2 separate regions of the Homo sapiens genome follow, and region 1 is linked to region 2. The links are contacts of gene promoters, found by promoter capture Hi-C in human tissues and cell types (Jung and others, 2019). All regions are on one chromosome and are shown on one strand. Each heading gives the region's core, a stretch centred on a gene start or on the middle of the fragment in contact. The rest is flanking DNA. Distances are from core to core; before and after follow the strand shown. Region 1 has its middle 25 kb from the start of CUL5. Region 2 holds the start of EXPH5 (exophilin 5).

Evidence for each region. Contacts are between HindIII fragments. The study calls those that stand out against the background at their distance.
Region 1: a fragment that was not itself captured here is called in contact with the fragment with the promoter of EXPH5 in region 2 in 1 of the 25 tissues and cell types used here (spleen).

What each region holds. Positions count from the first base shown.
Region 1 is chr11:107,982,130-107,984,829 of GRCh38, reverse strand. No RefSeq gene overlaps it. Among named protein-coding and RNA genes, the nearest start is that of CUL5, 25 kb to the left of the region's middle. The HindIII fragment of the contact is 3,165 bases long and covers 1-2,700 here.
Region 2 is chr11:108,592,394-108,595,093 of GRCh38, reverse strand. It overlaps EXPH5 (exophilin 5), which reads left to right and starts at 1,326. Exons shown (of 6, transcript NM_015065.3): 1 at 1,326-1,676. The coding sequence starts at 1,558. RefSeq lists silencers at 1,140-1,439, 1,460-1,509, 1,790-1,849. The HindIII fragment of the contact is 7,491 bases long and covers 1-2,700 here.

The sequences.
Region 1 (2,700 bases), core at 186-2,685, 610 kb after region 2:
CCGCACTTCTTTAGCCACAAAGTGAGTGCCTTGGTCAGAGGCAATGATGTGTGGAATACCATGATGGTGGATAAGGCATTCCATGAGTCCATGTATGGTAGTCTTGGCAGAAACATTGCGTGCAAGATAGGCAAACCCATATCTGGGCTAAGTGTCTATTCCAGTGAGGACAAACCTCTGCCCTTTCCGTGATGCAAGAGGTCCAATATAATCAACCTGCCACCAGGTAGCTGGCTGATCACCCTGAGGAATGGTGCCATATCGAGGGCTCAGTGTTGGTTTCTGCTGCTGGCAAATTGGGCACTCAGCAGTGGCCATAGCCAGGTCAGCCTTGGTGAGTGGAAGTCCATGTTGCTGAGTCCATGCATAACCTCCATGCCTGCCACCATGGCCACTTTGTTCATGGGCCCATTGGGCAATGACAGGGGTGGCTGGGGAAAGAGACTGAGTGGTGTCCATAGAATGGGTCATCCTATCCACTTGATTATTAAAATACCTCCTCTGCTGAGGTCACCTGTTGGTGAGCACTCACATGGGATACAAATATCTTCATGGTTTTTGACCACTCAGAGAGGTCCATTCACATACCCACTTCCCCAAGTTTCTTTGTCACCAATTTTCCAATCATGCTTCTTCCAAGTCCCTGACCATCCAGCCAAACCATTGGCCACAGCCCATGAATTAGTATGTAATCACACATCTGGCCATTTCTCCTTCCATGCAAAGTGCACAACCAGGTGCACTGCTCAAAGTTCTGCCCACTGGGAAGATTTCCCTTCACTGTTCTCCTTCAGGGATGTCCTAAAAAGGGCCTGTAGTGCTGCAGCTGTCCACTTTCGGGTAGTGCCTGCATATCATGAAAAACCATCTGTAAACCAGGCCCTAGTCTTCTCTTCCTCTGTCAACTGATCATAGGGAACTCCCCATAAGGCCATTGGTGCAGGCTGGAGAAGAGAAGGCAGGGTGGCAGGAGCATTTGAGCCACTTCCACATGTAACTTACTTGTGCCTTCAGGACCTGCTCGAAACTGATCATGTATGTACCACTTCCATTTGATGATGGAATGCTGCTGTGCATAACCCACTTTATGGCTAGATGGGCCAGAAAGCACCCAGTTTATGATAGGCAGTTCAGGTCGCATGGTGACTTGATGACCCATAGTCAAATGTTCAGTTTCCACCAAAGCTCAGCAGCAGGCCAAAAGGAGAGTAGTTATCTGCAGAAGATAGCAGAGCCTTGCTCTAAAATCCTAGAGGCCTCCACTGTGATTCACCTATGGTGGCCTGCCAAAGGCTCCAAACAGCATTCCTCTCTGCCACTGACATCTCAAGCACCATCGGATCTACTGGGTCATATGGCCCAAGTGGCAGAGCAGCTTGCACAGCATCCTGGACCTGTTGCAAACCATTCTCCTGACCCCACTCAAAACCGGCAGCCTTTTGGGTCACCCGATAAATGGGCCAGAGCAACACACCCAAACGAGGAATGTGTTGCCTCCAAAATCCAAATAGGCTCACTAGACATTGTGCCTCTTTCTTGGTTGTAGGAGGGGCCAAATGCAGCAACTTATCCTTCACCTTAGAAGGAATATTTCAACAGGCCCCACACCACTGGACCCCTAGAAATTTTAATGAGGTAGAAGTTTCCTGAATTTTAGTCAGATTTATTTCCCATCCTCTGGCATGCAAATGTCTCACCAATAAGTCCAGTGAAATTAAGGAAACTCAGAAAGCCAATACCCATTTAGTAAGATGGACACCTGAAGCAGAAGCGGCTTTCCAGGCCCTAAAGAAGGCACTAACCCAAGCCCCAGTGTTAAGCTTGCCAACGGGGCAAGACTTTTCTTTATATGTCACAGAAAAAAATAGGAATAACTCTAGGAGTCCTTACACAGGTCCAAGGGACAAGCTTGCAACCCATGGCATACCTGATTAAGGAAATTGATGTAGTGGCAAAGGGTTTGCCTCACTGTTTACAGGTAGTGGCGGCAGTAGCAGTCTTAGTATCTGAAGCAGTTAAAATGATACAGGGAAGAGATCTTACTGTGTGGACATCTCATGATGTCAACGGCATACTCACTGCTAAAGGAGACTTGTGGCTGTCAGACAACTGTTTACTTAAATATCAGGCTCTATTACTTGAAGGGCCAGTGATGTGGCTGCACACTTGTGCAACTCTTAACCCAGCCACATTTCTTCCAGACAATGAAAAAAAGATAGAACATAACTGTCAACAGGTGATTGCTCAAACCTATGCCACTCGAGGGGACCTTCTAGAGGTTCCCTTGACTGATCCTGACCTCAACTTGTATACTGATGAAAGTTCCTTTGTTGAAAAAGGAATTTGAAAGGCGGGGTATGCACTGGTCAGTAATAATAAAATACTTGAAAGTAATCCCCTCACTCCAGGAACTATCGCTCAGCTGGCAAAACTAATATAAACTATCACTCAGCTGGCAAAACTAATATAAACTATCACTCAGCTGGCAAAACTAAAATAGCCCTCACTTGGGCACTAAAATTAGAAAAAGAAAAAAGGGTAAATAGAGATACAGACTGTAAGTATGCTTACCTAGTCCTCCATGCCCATGCAGCAATATGGAGAGAAAGGGAATTCCTAACTTCCGAGAGAACACCAATCAAACATCAGGAAGCCGTCAGGAGATTATTATTGGCTGTGCAGAAATCTAAAGAGGTGGCA
Region 2 (2,700 bases), core at 77-2,576:
TGAAAAGTCCCATGTGTATGCTGAATAAATGAACACACTAGAAAAACTGGACACCATATACAAGACATACTCCCAAAACAGGATCATTAATACAGACACTATTTATAAAGGAGTTCTGTATTGTGTACACCATGGGTGAACAAAATTGGTTCCTGGTTCACACAAATAACAGACACCCACAGAAAGTTATCTGAATGGCTAGCTGCCTAGGCATGTTTTAAATAATGATGATCAAATGGGGTAGCCCAGAGAACAAAACACAAGTGGCAATTTTTGATATCATGTTCTTGTACAGATACAAAATTTTAATTGGGTTTATGTGCCATGAAAAGAAATGATATATGTAGAAGTACATTTTATATGTTAGTAATCATCACCACCATCTTCAAAATGACCAAATTAAGGCTATGGGGCAGGAAAGTCAATCTGACAGAGTTATTTTTGGGTAGGAAGTGAAGCCAAGATAAAAACATGTTTTCTGTAAAAGCCTTGATAATTAAAAAAAAAGTATATATGTGAATATCTTTATAAGTTTCTATTATTCTTCATTGCATTGTGGAACAATTGACTTTCTAGGAAAGCTATTTCTGTGGCTTCATAGGATTACCATTTGCTTTCACCAGAGGATTAGGTATTTTTAAATGGCATGTGTATTACTTCTCTGAGTTTATTAAGATGATAATAAAATCTTACAGAAAACTTCTAACAGGTGTTTTCTACAGTCCTTTGCTTCTGGGCTGTCTTCTCCTAAAATACCATAAACGGTTTTGTTTGTTTGTTTGTTTGTTTCTAAAGTCTAAGAATGACTTTTGTGGGACAGTGGAGGTGGGGGTGTCTGTGGGATGAGAGGCTTGGCAAATAATTCGTTTCCAAGGATACACTAATTTCCGCCCTTCAGCCAGGTTCATCCACAGTCAGTAGTGTAATTGAGTTTAGTTCTTCCTGGTCTTTCAGATAAGTAACCCTTTTGCCAGTTACAAACCCTACTTGCAATTCTATTTTCTATGGGCTCTTAATTATTGAAAGGGAGGATTAGTCATGAATCTCCTTTTTCACTCCTTTACTAATCAAGCTCAAGTTCTGCGAGCAAACAGCAACAGCAAAAGCAAATACTTTGGCGCCAACACTTAGCCTTGCCTCACTTAAGAGGCAGAATTATGTAGGCTTGTTTGCTTAACAACTCAGATAGGGGGCGGGGAGGGTGACCGGAGGGGACGAGGGAGGGGACGAGGGACGGGACGAGACGAGGGAGGGGACGAGGGAGGGGACAAGGGAGGGCCCGCCCCCTTGGAACGGGATTGGTTCCCTCTCTCCCTTTAGCCGTTCACTTTGCATCTCGGTTGGACAGGTTGAGAGAAACATGTCATTAAGGTATTGTCAATATGAGCCCTTCAGGTGTGGGCGTTCCCTAGGTTTGTGGTTTTAGACTTTCAAAGGGGCGGACTTATTATTGGCTGTGGGATCAAGTTCGTGAAACTGGTCTTGTACAGGTTGAAAAATGCCTTCCTAACAGGAGGCGCCAAGGAGCTTAAGTGTAACTCACACACAGTAAAGAAAATGACGAAAGTTCCTCCGGCGTTTGATTTCAGTTTCTTAAATGACGAAGAGGCCAGGAAGATCCTTCAGGTGCTGGAAAGGAATGAGGAGTTACAGAGGGCCGAGAAGGACAGGATCAGGTACAGAGCAAATTCATTTCTTTTGTCCTGGGCCTGGGTCCCGCAGGGGCCGGGGATCCGCGGGGAAGGCGCTGAGCTCGCGCGGGGCACCTGCCCGGGGGTGCTCCGAGCGGCTGCTGCGGAGGCTGCGGGTCGGGAAGAGAAAACTGCGCGGAGTTGCTCCCTGAAGGACTTTGGGATGCTTAGTTGGTACCCTCTCCACCCACCACATACCAGACGGGCTCGGCTGCGGGTCTGGGGTCGGGCAGGGTGGGGGGGTCCGTGCGCTGCGGGGGCCGCGCAGTGACGCTGTGCTGTGCCGGGTGTCTGCTGGGCCATCGCGGGGCGTGGGCCGTTTCAGGCAATGAAATGCGGCGGGGGCGCGATCTGGAGAGGAATCCTGGCTGCTGCTCACTCCGCGGCCCGCGCGCACCCACGTGCTCGCACGGGTCCGACAGAGCTTCCACCCTCGCCTAACGCAGTTTTCCCTCGGCACCAGAGGCGAATCTCCCCACCCAATGCGGGCAGTCAGCGAAGCACGGGAGAGCCGGCACCTCACGGGAGGCGAAAGGTCCCCACCCCAAGGGTAGGAGCTCGAGGAATTTGTCAAATAGAGGCTTATGTGGGCGAATGGGACTTGGACACACGGGGTTGGCTGGAATGGGTGGGTCTTCTTGTGCGTGGTGCTGTGGGGAGCGAGTTTCTGAGAAATTTCATCCTTGACCTTACTATACACTGTTGTAGGTGAGGGATTAGTTACTAAAGAATGAAATCCAGAGACACAGATAATTACCCAGGATGTACATTAACCAGTTTTTCTGCTGGGGAAGTGTGGGATAAGTGCTGGAATGAATTAAAGGGACTCTCTCGCCAATATTGGAATATATCCATCTAAGTCCTTCTCTAGATAACTGTGGAAGGGAATTCAGGACATCACTCTCAGACCACACTGTGTGCCATTGATTGGAATTTAGCAAGTCATTTTGTTTTATGATCAACTGCTTGCTAATGCGAGTTCCAGGTTCCCAATTCTTTCTAGAATTGC